Regions from separate parts of the Homo sapiens genome. Here region 1 is linked to region 2. Evidence: promoter capture Hi-C in human tissues and cell types (Jung and others, 2019). All regions are on one chromosome and are shown on one strand. The core of a region is centred on a gene start or on the middle of the fragment in contact, and the rest is flanking DNA. Distances in the headings are between cores, read along the strand shown.

Region 1 (6,650 bases), core at 65-2,564, 340 kb after region 2:
TTTGTCTTTTATTGGGAATTTAGTCCATTTATATTCGATGTTATAGTTATAAGGTACAGACTTACTACTGCCATTTTGTTATTTATTTTCTGGTTGTTTTGTTGGTCCTCTCTTCCTTCCTTCTTGTCTTCCTTTGTGTAAAAGTGACTTTTTCTGACAATGTTTTAATTTATTATTTAAAACTTTTTTTGGGCTGGGCATGGTGCCTCACGCCTGTAATCCCAGCACGTTGGCAGGTGGAGGCGGGTGGATCATGGGGTCAGGAGATCGAGACCATCATGGCTAACACGGTGAAACCCCATCTCTACTAAAAAATAAAAAAAGATTTAGCTGGGCATGGTGGCGGGTGCCTGTAGTCCCAGCTACTCAGGAGGCTGAGGCAGGAGAATGGCATGAACCCGGGAGGTGGAGCGTGCAGTGAGCTGAGATCATGCCACTGCACTCCAGCCTGGGCGACCGAGCAAGAGTCTGTCTCAAAAACAAACAAACAAAAAAACCCAACTTTTTTTGTATCTGTTACAGGTTTTTGTTTTGTGGTTACTGTGAGGCTTGCAAATAACATAACCAATTATTTTAAGCAGATGACAGCTTAACTCTGATTACAATGAAAATAAAAAAGAAATCAGCAAAAAGAAAACAAAAAAACCCCCCAAAACTTTACCTTAACCCCATTTCTTCACTTTGTCACTTTTTTTTTTTTTTTTTGAGATGGAGTCTCACTCTGTCACCCAGGCTGGATACAGTGGCGTGATCTCGGCTCACTTCAACCTCTGCCTCCCGGGTTCAAGCGATTCTCCTGCCTCAGCCTCCCAAGTAGCTGGGACTACAGGCACCTGCCACCACACCCGGCTATTTTTTTTTTTTTTTTTGTATTTTTAGTAGAGATGGGGTTTCACCATGTTAGCCAGGATAGTCTTGATCTCCTGACCTCGTGATCTTCCTGCCTTGTCCTCCCAAAGTGCTAGGATTACAGGCTTGAGCCACCATGCCCGGCTGCTTTGTCACTTTTGATTGTCTCTGTTTATATCTTTTTATGCTCAGAAAGCTGTTTCAGTTACTATTTTTGATAGGTTTGTCTTTTAATCTTCCTACTAAGATATGAGTGTTTTAACACTATAGTTACAGTGTTAGAGTATTCTGTATTCATTCATCTGTTCATTTACCACTACCAGTGAGTTCTGTACCACCATGTGATATATATTTTTTTACATTAATGTGCTTTTCTTTCAGATTGAATAACTCTCTTTAACATTTTTTGCAAGACAGGTCTGGTGTTGTTGAAACCCCTCAGCTGTGTTTGTCTGGGAAAGTATTTCTCTTTCATGTTTGAAGGATAATTTTACTGGAAATAATATTCTAGTTCAAAAGTTGTTTTTCTTCAACACTTTGAATATGTCATCCCCCTCTCTCTTGGCCTCTAAGTTTCCTGCGGAGTTGTCTCCTACTAGACATATTGGAGCCCCTTTATATGTTCTTTGCTTCTTTTCTTTTTCTGCTTTTAGGATACTTTCTTTATCCTTGACCTTTGAGAGTTTGATTAATATATTAACTGAGTTAGTCTTATTTGGGTTGAATCCTTTTGGTGTTGTGTGATCTTCTTATACCTTAATATTTATATCTTTTCTTAGGTTTGGAAAGTTTTCTATCAGTATTTCACTGAATAAACTTTCTACCCTGATCTCTCTATCTCTACATCCTCTTTAAAGCCAATAACTCTTAGATTTGCCCCTTTTAGGCTATTTTCTAGATCTTGTAGAGAGGCTTCATTCTTTTAAAATTATTTCTCTTTTCTCTCCTCTGACTGTGTATTTTTATATAGCCTGTCTTCAGGTTCACTATTTATTTTTCTTGATCGATTCTGCTGTTGAGAGACTCTGAGACATTTTTGAGTTTGCCAGTTGAATTTTTCAGCTGCAGAATTTCTGTTTGAAATTTCAAAAACTATTTTAATCTCTTTGTTAAATTTCTCTGGTAGAATAATGAATTTCTTCCCTGTGTTATCTTTAAGTTTGTTGAGCTTCCTCAAGACAGTTCTTTTGAATTCTCTGTCTGAAAGGACATACATCTCCATCTTTCTGGGATTGGTCACTGGTGTCTTCTGTAGTTCATTTAATGAGGTCATGTTTTCCTGGATACTCTTGATGCTTGTGGACATTCATCACTTATGGGCATTGACAAATTAGATATTTATTTGTCTGTGTAGTCTGGGCTTGTTTGTACCCTTCATTCTTGAGAAGGCTTTTCATGTATTCAAATGGGATTGAGTGTGTTGTGCTCTAAGCCTGTGGTCCGTATGGGCATATCGGCACAAGGAGGTGCTCTAAGCCCAGGAATGCTGCAATTCTTCCTGACATCTAGAGGCACTGCCTTGACGAGTTTGGGTAAGGTAAAGGAGAATTCCCTGGGTTGTCAGGCAAAGTCCTCTTGATATCTTCCCTTTACTCCTCCCAGTCAGAAGTAGTCTGTCTCCATACTGGGCTGCCTAGAGCACTTCCATGGCTTCCACAGCTGGCACTGTGCTAGGTCACACCTGAAGCCTGTATAATACTGGATCTTGCCTGGTTACTGCTGATGTTTATTCAAGGCCCAAGGGATCTTTAGTGAGCAGGTGAATCCTGCCAAGACTGGGTTCTTCTCTTCAGGGCAGTGGATTCCCTCTGAATGAGAGTGGGTCCAGGAACTAAGTCCTGGAATTGACAGCTTCAGGAATCTCCTTGGTGCTTTACTTCGACTGAGCTGGTACCCAAATTGCAAGACAGTCTTCTGTACTCTTCCCACTTCTTTCCTTAAGCTAAAGGAATCTCTCCCCAAACTGCACTTCCTGGAGTTGGGTGCAGTGCGATCAGGCACTCCCCTGGCTGCCACAGCTGGTGTCACACTTGGTCACACATCACAAGTCTACTGCCTCCAAGGCCGGTGCAGTACCAGGGCTTGCCCGAGGACTGCAGTACTTGTGGCCTGACAGCCACTTAAGCTTATTCTGGGCACTAGGCCAGTTTAGTTAGCCAGAGGTGAGGTTGGTTGGGACTCAGGTTCCTCCTGCTGAGATTGAGAATTCTGTCTTGCCCAGGGCTGATCTAAATGCCCCCTCCTTGGGTGCTAGCAGAGTTCTGCTGTTTTGTGTTTTTCTGTAACATGGCTGCACTAAGTTCCAGTGCAAAGACCCACACTCACTTCACCCTCCCTCCCCCAAACACAGTTTCTCTGTCCATGCTGGAAGGGATCCTGTAGGCAATGCAAGACTGTCTTTCCTGTCCTCTTCAATTCCTCTATCCCTGATGTTATGTTAAAACCAGGTACTGTGATTTTCAGGTACTCACCTGAATTTTCTGGGTTCTTATGAAGGTGTTTATTGCATAGATAGTTGCTCAATTTGGTGTAAGATCATGGAAGGGTTCTATTTGGCCATCTTGCTCTGCTTCCCTTTATTTTTATTTACTGTTAAAACCTGGCTCATGGTCAGTTTTTTCCTGTATGTAAACTTTCTTGAGGTGCTTTTGTTTTATATATTAGCAATGATTAAAAAAGCTTTCTCTTTTTTCTAGGAGAGCATATAGATTATTGTGGATATTCTGTTCTTCCTATGGCTGTAGAACAAGATGTGCTAATAGCTGTAGAACCTGTGAAAACGTACGCTCTCCAACTGGCCAATACAAATCCCTTGTATCCGTGAGTATTTAAAATTGTTAGTGTGTGTGTATGTATGGTTCTGTTTGTACCCAAATGAACTCTTTAGGAGACATCAAATTTGTAACAGGTCATTTAACTTATTGATATTTTGTGTCTGACATTAAAAAAATTCTAAGGCCATTATTTATTGTTCATTTTGTTCATTTGTCAATTCATTTAAGGAATATTTATCAAAGACTTATCATGTGCTAGACATAGTCTTAGATACCAGGTGATACAAAGATAAATAACTCTGTCCTTGTCCGATAGGTACTTATCATCTATTGATCTAATTATCTCCAGCAAAGTCAGGTCTGATGTTTTCCTATGTTACTATGGCACCTTCTAAGTATCTTGTCATAGCATATTATTATGCTGTATTATTATTATCTGTTTATTTACCTGTGTCACCCAGTAGACTGTAAACTCTGTGACTTCAGGCATTGTTGCCTCTCTTCTTCAATGCCCTAGCATATAAAACAGAGTCTGGTGCCTAATAGAGGTAAGTTTCTAGTACATATGCTTTATCAAGTTAACAAAGTCTTTAAAAAAAATCTTAGTTTGCTAAGATTAAAAAAGTTTACTAATGGGTATTGAATTTAATTAAATGTCTATTTAGAATTGAAGATCAGTTTTTTTAAAAATATGGTGAATTAGTCTGACGAATTTTCTAATGTTGAGCCCTTTTTGCATTTCTGGGATAAACTCTACTTGCTTCTAATGTATTATAATGGATTTGACTTGATAATTACAGAAAAAGATTTTGGCTTGTATTTGGCATATTATATGTTTGGCTTGTTCATTGGTTAGTTTATCTGCAATAACATTCATGTATTCGGAAAATATTTTTGATAAGACTCTATACCAGTTTGTGCAAGACGTAGAAGTTTTTTACTTTTATATGGAACTTACTGTAGAAGATCTTTTTTTCCTTTTCATTTCGCATGTTTGATAATATATCTTGTGTGCATTTTGGACCCTTGAAAAGCTCACATTATGTCAAGCATATTTTCGTGTCATTGTGTATGAACATTTAAAAATCGGTGCATAGTATTTTGTCATCTTGATTTAGTAAAATTTACTTAATCATTCCCACAATAATGAATATGTGGTTTCAGTTTCGTTTTTCACAAAAGTAGATCCTGAGACAGACCTGGATGAAGGTAGTATATTTGAGAAATGGTCCCAGGAGCAGTAGGAAAGAGCATGAAGAATGAGTTGGGCAATTAGAGGTGAATTATCAAGACATATAGTCCCTGCTAGAGGCAGGAGGCTTGATTCTACCAGGACCCCTAGGAAGCATGCAGTATGCCTCCTAGAATTGTCCATTTGTTTTAGCATTCATTGTGTAAGTATATCTTAATTTGTTTGTTTACCAATAATGGACATTTAGATCATTCCCAGTTTTTGCCTGTATGAATAATACTGCTACAAATATTTATGTACGAATATATGTGTGGACATATGTTTCATTTCTGTTGGGTAAATACCTATGATTGGAGTGTCTGGTTTGCCATTTATTTATTTATTGAGACAGGGTCTCACCCTGTTGCTCAGCCTGGAGTGTAGTGGGGCGATCTCAGCTCAACTCAACCTCTGCCTCCCAGGTTCAAGAGATTCTCCCACTTCAGTCTCCGGAGTAGCTGGGACTACAGGCACATGCCGTCACACCTGGCTAATTTTTGTATTTTTTGGTAGAGATGGGATTTCACCATGTTGACCAGGCTGGTCTTAAGCTACTGACCTCAAGTGATCCACCTGCATCAGCCTCCCAAAGTGCTGGGATTGCAGGTTTGAGCTACTGCATCCGTCCTGGTTTGCCTTTGATATGGTTTGGTGGTGTCCCCACCCAAATCTCATCTTGAATTTTAACTCCCACAATTCCCACGTGTCCTGGGAGGAACCTGGTAGGAGGTAATTGAATCATGGGGGCAAGTCTTTCCCATGCTGTTCTTGTGATAATGAATAAGTCTCATGAGATCTGATGGTTTTAAAAATGGGAGTTTCCCTGCACAAGCTCTCTTTTTGCCTGACACCATTGATATAAGACGTGACTTGCTCCTCCTTGCCTTCTGCCATGATTGTGAGGCTCCCGCAGCCATGTGGAACTGTAAGTTCATTAAATCTCTTGCTTTTGTAAATTGCTCAGTCTCAAGTATGTCTTTATCAGCAGCATGAAAATGAACTAATATAGCCTTTTAAAGAAATTTTCTGGCTGGGCACGGTGGTTCACGCCTGTAATCCCAGCATTTTGGGAGGCTGAGGTGGATGGATCTCTTGAGCCTGGGAGTTCGAGACCAGCCTGGGCAGCATGGCAAAAGCTTGTCTCCACTAAGAATACAAAAAAATTAGTTGGGTATTGTGGCATGCACCTGTAATCCCAGCTACTCAGGAGGCTGAGGCAGGAGAATCACTTGAACCTCGGAGGTGGAGGTTGCAGTGAGCCAAGATTGCGCCACTGCGCTCCAGCCAGGGTGACAGAGCGAGACTCTGTCTCAAAAAAAAAGATATTTTCTGCTTGCCAAAGTTGTATAATTTTACATTTTCACCAGTGGTGTTACTAACATGTCTTAAAATTTTAGCTATTCTCATAAATGTGTAGTAGCATATTTCAAGTTTTTAAATTTCTCTGATTAATGATGTTGAACATCTTTTCATCTACTTATTTGCTACCTAGATATATTCTTTGTTGAAGCGTCTTCTCAAATCATTTCCCTATTTTTGAGTTTCTTATAGATACAAGTCTTTTTTTTTTTTTTTTTTTTGAGACAGAGTCTTGTTCTGTCATTTCTGTGTTGGGACATTACAGGTCCTTTCTTCTAGGTATTTTGAAATATACAATACATGGTTGATAACTATAGTCCCCCTACTCTGCTATAGACCATTAGAACTTATTCCTTCTATCTAACCGTATGTTTTTACCTATTTGCCAACCTCTTTTTATCCCCCGTTCACTGACCATTCCTCACCTCTATTATCTA
Region 2 (6,846 bases), core at 3,032-5,531:
AAACTTCACTGAAGAGTATAAATAAGATCTGAACAAGTAGAAAGATATATATCACTCTCATGGATGAGAAGATGGTATTACAAAGGTGTCAATCCTACCCCAGATTAATTTATAAATTCCATGCAATTCCAATAAAAATGCTTCTAAAATTCATATGGAAGAATAAATGTGCAAGAACAGCTAAAGCAAATTTTAAAAGAACAAATGCATAAGAATTCCCTTATAAGATAATAAGAAATATTATAATATCACATTCAAGATGCTCCTAAATTCATATGAAAGAATAAATGCACAAGAAGAGTTAGCGCAGTTTTTTAAAGAACAAAGACAAAATATTCCTGATCAAACAGCAAGATATAAAACTGTAAAAATGTCACAAGAATTCAAAGTCTAAAAATAGACTCATGTATTTAAGAACTTTTAGTCTATGATAAATCTGACACCAAGCAGCAGTCAGCCAGAAATCATGTGTCCATGGTGAGAAGAACTAGAGCAGGGGCTCCCGACTCCCCTGGCCAGAGACCAAGTACCAGTCCGTGGCCTGTTAGGAACCGGGCTGCAGAGGAGGTGAGCAGTGGATGAGCAAGAGAAGCTTCATGTGTATGTACTGCTGCTCCCCGTTGCTCACATTACTGTCTGAGTTCTGCCTCCTGTCAGATCAGTGGCGACATTAGATTCTCATAGGAGAATGAACCCTATTGTGAACTACACATACGAGGGATCTAGGTTGCATGCTCCTTATGAGAATCTAATGCTTGATGACCTGAGGTAGAGCTGAGGTGGTGACGCTAGTGCTGGGGAGTGGCTGCAAATACAGATTAACAATAGCAGAGAGGTTTGACTGCACAGAGACCATAATAAATCAATTGCTTGCAGACTCATATCAAAACCCTATCGGTAAGTAGCAAGTGACACTTAAGTTGCATCTGGTGGCAGGCTACATAGTGGCAAGTGAGTTGATGTACTTCAGTTGTACAGCTGCAGCTGATGGCAGGCTTTAAGTCTGAATCCGACTATTTTAGTTTGTTCCTGACCCGCCCATTATTTTATTTACCACTCCCATCCATGTCTCTTTCCTGCACCATGCACTTTCTCGGTCACAGTTTTGGTAAGCCCATAAGCTAACCCTAGCCAAAATGAGTAAAAAACAAACTTCACTGGAGAGGTTCTTTGAAAAGGGGGAAAGATCCAGTGATGAGACTGCAGAAGACTTTAAGACTGCCAACAAAAATAAAGCTGCATTTAAAAGAAAATATCAAGAGTCCTACTTAAAATACCAGTTCATTACAACAGGTGATTCACATTATCCAAGCTTGCTTTGCATAACATGTAGCAAGTGGCTATCTAACAAAGCCATGAAGCCTTCTAAACTGCTTTGTCACATGGAGACCACACACCCTGCATTAATACTAAGCCTTTGGAGTTTTTCAAAAGAAAACAATGTGAACACAAAGAATAGAAGAAATTATTGAAGGCCACCACTTCATCAGATGTGTTTGCACTGAGAGCATCATTCTTAGTGGCTAACCACATTGCTAAAGCTAAGAAGTCCTTTACTATTGATGAAGAGTTGATCCTGCCTGCTTCTAAGGACATTTGTCATGAACTTTCAGGAGAGGCTGCAGTTCAAAAGGTGGCATGTGTTCCTCTTTTGGCTAGCACCACAACTAGATGAACTGATGAAATATCAGAGGATAATGAGGCACAATTGTTAGAAAGGAACAATGCTTTTTTGTGTGTGATATATTTTGCAGGAGGATGTGAATGAGGATATGCTATATGCACTTTTGTTGCCAACCAGCACCACAGATGCAGAACTATTCAAGTCTTTGAATGATTACATATCAGGAAAGTGGAATCAGTCATTTTGCATCGGTATATGCATGGGTGGAGCAGCTGCCATGACTGGATGGCATTTTGGTTTCACTACTCAGGTCAAAGAGGTCGCTTCTGAATGTGAGTCTATGCACCATGTCATCCATAGAGAAATGATGGCTAGTCAGAAAATGTCACCTGAACTTAACAACATTTTGCAGTATGTGATTAAAATTATCAACCATATTATACATGCCCTTAACTCACATCTGTTTGTGCAGCTCTGTGAGGAGATGGATGCAGAGCACACACGTCTTCTCTTACACACAGAAGTGAGATGGCTTTCTAAAGGTAGATCACTGGCCAGAGTTTTTGAGTTAAGAGAGCTGCTTCAGAGATTTCTTTGTAGAAAAACAGTCACCATTGGCGGCACATTTCAGTGACACAGAATGGGTCACAAAAAAACTTGCTTACTTGTGTGACATATTCAACCTGCTCAGTGAACTCTGTCACTTCAGGGACGAACAACAACTGTGTTCAACTTGGCAGATAAGGTGGCTGCATTCAAAGCCAAACTGGAATCATGCGGGTGACAAATGAACACTGGGATTTCTGACATTTCAAACATTAGCAGAGATTTTGAAAGAGACTGAGCCAGGGTCTTCTTTCTCCCAGCTGGTGCATGATCACCTATCTCAGCTTTCAAAATATTTTGAGCATTACTTCCTGTATTAGTCATGGTTCTCTAGAAGCACAGAACTAATGGAATATATACATATATATATACACACACACACACACGTATATACACATACACACATACATATACACATATATATGTATATATATGTAAAGGGGAGTTCACTAAGTATTAACTCACATGATCACAAGGTCCTACAATAGGCTGTCTGCAGGCTAAGGAGAGAGGAGAGCCAGTCCGAGTTCTGAAACTGAAGAACTTGGGAATCCAATGTTCGAGGGCAGGAAGCATCCAACACAGGAGAAAGATTTAGGCTGGGAGGCTAGGCCAGTCTCTCTTTTCACATTTTTCTGCCTGCTTATATTCTAGCCAAGCTGGCAGCTGATTAGATTGTGCCCAACCAGATTAAGGGTGGGTCTGCCTTTCGCAGCCCACTGACTCAAATGTTAATCTCCTTTGGCAACACCCTCACAGACACACCAATGATCAATACTTGTATCCTTCAATCCAATCAAGTTGACACTCAGTATTAACCATCACACTTCTCATCCACAAAAGACGGAATGGATCTGTGACCCATTTGTGAATAAGCCAGGTGAATCCACTTTGTCCACGCTAGAAGAGGATCAACTGCTTGATATTGCAAATGACGGTGGCCTTAAAAGTATGTTTGAGACAACTTCAAATCTCCATACGTTCTCGATTAAAGTCAAGGCGGAACATCCTGAGATTGCCACAAAAGTACTGAAAAGCCTCCTTCCATTTTCAACATCCTATCTTTGTGAGGCAGGATTTTCCACAGTAACAGCAACCAAAATGAGATTACAGAATAGACCGGACATAAGGAACACACCTCGGGTGTCACTGTGTCTCATCACCCCCAGATGGGACCATCTAGTTGCAGGAAAACAAGCTCAGGGCTCCCATTGATTCTACATTATGGTGAGTTGTATAATTCTACATAACTATAATGTAATAATAATAGAAATAAAGTGCAGAATAAATGAAATGTGCTTGAATCCTGTAAGTATACACAGTCATATAATTCATATAAGTATATACAACTTAAAACCTGAGGCTTTTAAGTTGAAGGTAAAAACAGGTAAAACATGTTTTTAAAAAACACACAAAATAGTATTTTGCTGTCAATACATAAAGATACATGTAAATGCAAATAAAAAGAATTCAAAGAATACACACCGCATTGCTAATAGTGGAAAGATACCTCCCAGGCGAAAAGAAATGGGACCAAGTATTTCTTCACTATAACTAAAAAAAAAAAAAGTACAATATATCTGTTGTTTGTGAATTTAACTTTTTAAATGAAAACACTAAAAGGACAAAATGGATTAGTTCTTAATATGCTGATCTGTGGTTATGGATGTTGTCTGGTTTGGAGACGTGGATTTACAAGTCATCAGTACATCGGTAAATTGCCCAGGGGAAGAGGAAGGGGGGGAAGGAGCATTAAATGTTACGAAGGCCATGTAAGGTTATTTTCCGGTTTGCAGCATTACAAGCAGCAGTAGGGTTAAGTAACACAGAAACTGTTACGCTCTTGCATGCAGGGTCCCTAGATACGAAGTTCGAATCGATGGAAACGTAGCTCAAAAGGCGACGCCAACACCCCGGAGAAAACACTGAGCTACTCCAACCACAGTGGCGCGCCAAGTAGGAGGCGGTACCTGAGGACCACGCCTGCGCGCGGGGTTACGCAAGCGCGCAGCCTTTGCGCACGCGCACGAACGCACGGCCGCGCAGCATCTGTCTTGCTGGAAGCTTTTTCCTAGAGGTTGAGCGGTTTGCACAATGTCGGAAATGGCTGAGTTGTCCGAGCTGTATGAAGAGAGCAGTGACCTGCAGATGGATGTGATGCCTGGCGAGGGTGACCTTCCGCAGATGGAGGTAGGCAGCGGGAGCCGGGAGCTATCCCTGCGTCCCTCCCGCAGCGGGGCCCAACAGCTCGAGGAGGAAGGCCCAATGGAGGAGGAGGAGGCCCAGCCAATGGCGGCGCCAGAGGGGAAACGGAGCCTTGCTAACGGGCCCAACGCTGGGGAGCAGCCAGGCCAGGTGGCGGGCGCAGACTTCGAGAGCGAGGACGAGGGCGAGGAATTTGATGACTGGGAGGACGACTACGACTATCCCGAAGAGGAGCAGCTCAGTGGTGCCGGCTACAGAGTATCAGCCGCTCTTGAAGAAGCCGACAAGATGTTTCTGAGAACAAGAGAACCAGCCCTGGATGGCGGGTTTCAGATGCATTATGAGAAGACCCCGTTTGATCAGTTAGCTTTTATCGAAGAGCTTTTTTCACTGATGGTTGTCAATCGTCTGACCGAAGAACTCGGCTGTGATGAGATTATTGATAGAGAGTAGTTAGATGCTGTTAAAAGAGGAGGAAACTACTTGAGGAGGGACCCAACTTTCCGCTATCTTTTGGGTTCATTCCAAATAGTTTTGTGCCATTGAAAAACTTGACCTTCAAAAAAATTTGTTTTTCAGAATAGAACACAATAGGACAGTGACTGCACAGTTGTGAAAAAGGAAGAGAATCATTAAAGAAAAAGAAAAAAGATTTTAAGACCGTTGAAATCAATTATCAAGAACGTCCTAAAACACCTATGGCTTTGACTTTGTTATTGATCCAGATTATTTTCCTTGCATTGGGGAAAATATCTTTCATATTTGTTTGCTGTAAAGATGGTTTTGCAAGAATAAGTCATGACCAAGACAAACTGCCAATACAAAAGCCCACTGATACTAATTATATAATGAGAAAAAAATGTATCCAACTAGGACACATATCTTTTGAGTTATTTGGACTGAAAGCTTAAGAAAACTTGGAAAATTCTATTTTGTGATCTAGTCAAGCCACAGTTATCAAAGGCTACATTTTCAGTGTAAGATAAATGGATGAGTAAACTCAAATATGTATCACGTGTGCTTTGTATCTTAAGATGTGTTTCCAAGAGCATCTGAAATTTTGTTTGTACATGTATCTTGATCATTTATAAAGCCACTGTGATCTATAAATCAAGAAAATCCATTGTCATAACCATTTTTAAAAGTCAAAAATTAAGACATCCTTAATTAAAAAGTTTCAAATCTAGACACTAAATGTGTGTGAATGTACAAAGAAAACAAACCATTGCTTATGCTGTTATATACTAGAGAAATTTTGTTTTGCTTGCTGTTTTAACTTGACAGATGAAGGACTTTAGTTGAACTTCATATTGTAAGAACTGTTAATAAAAGTTGTCAAGTAAAAAGCGCTATATCTAAAAAGACTTTATGAACAGTTATTCTATCAACTTTTAAAGGTTTTAAACCTGCCCAGAAATTACCTTGGTATCTGAAGTTTCCCTCTGTCTCCTCCTCTAATTAAGCTTGTTATTTGTCATGCACCAGCATTGGAGATAATAAAATTTCTTGTTCTGTGTATTTTGTTTGGCTAATAGTATTGCATACATACTTTCTCTGTATACTACTTTCTATTGTATGTGTTAACCAGTATTAAGGGAAAATGATCCAGCTTCAGCTATCTAATTCACAAATTAATTTCTGGAAATTAAACTTTGTAAATTAAGTTTTTGCCTATAAGAATTTGCTGGTCTGGGAAAACCTGCCCTATCAATGAGTATGTTGCCGTGGTTACCTTACTAAGATGCTGAAGTTCTAGGAGAGTAATGATTACATCAGAAGGCTAGGTTCAGCAAAATAAGTGTATCAGCAGGTTTTATCATGATCAGTAAAAATGTTCCAAATGCTTCTGCTCCATTATAGCAGTAAAGAACGAATATCCAATGCAACAGGACAATTCAGAGCCTTATTTATTTTATGGTCATCCTGTCTTTTGGGGAGAGAGATCTGTAAAAGATAGGACTGTGACAAGGCTGATCAGAATTGCTCAGACACTAGCTGGGTTAGGAGGGAGAGATGGTGGAAGTAAAATGTTGGTGCTTAGACTTAATCCTACTGCCTCTTCCACTGCTTTCTCAATTAGCGTGCAGCTACGGTCAGATGAGTGTGGATAGGTAATTAATTGCATGGATGATGTAAATTAGTGTGGGTGGGGGTATGCTAGTGCACAATAAACTGGCTGGTTGTATTTACCTCCAGATCTTTATCTTTACCAGGAAAGTTTATCTTTACTAGGAAAGATAAACTCTTGGAAAAAAAAATCTGAGGTCCACAAACTAGAAGGTTGTGATTCTGTTTTTCTCTGGGACTGAGTAGGGCAAAGAGGTGGGGGTGGGAAACACTATTCCATCTGAAGGCCCATCTTGGGGAGAAAAACCTGGGCTCTGCAATTGACTTGGTTGTTTTTCAGTCTT

What was found. Contacts are between HindIII fragments. The study calls those that stand out against the background at their distance.
Region 1: a contact is called between a fragment that was not itself captured here and the fragment with the promoter of EID1 in region 2, in 1 of the 25 tissues and cell types used here (dorsolateral prefrontal cortex).

What each region holds. Positions count from the first base shown.
Region 1 is chr15:49,213,645-49,220,294 of GRCh38, forward strand. GALK2 (galactokinase 2) reads left to right here. Exons shown (of 10, transcript NM_002044.4): 3 at 3,546-3,669. Among named protein-coding and RNA genes, the nearest start is that of GALK2, 47 kb to the left of the region's middle. The HindIII fragment of the contact is 3,874 bases long and covers 1-3,251 here.
Region 2 is chr15:48,873,853-48,880,698 of GRCh38, forward strand. It overlaps EID1 (EP300 interacting inhibitor of differentiation 1), which reads left to right and starts at 4,282. Exons shown (of 1, transcript NM_014335.3): 1 at 4,282-6,321. The coding sequence starts at 4,325. The coding sequence ends at 4,888. All of the region lies in intron 4 of SHC4 (SHC adaptor protein 4), which reads right to left. RefSeq lists a silencer at 471-792 and enhancers at 3,857-3,966, 4,237-4,536. The HindIII fragment of the contact is 3,865 bases long and covers 953-4,817 here.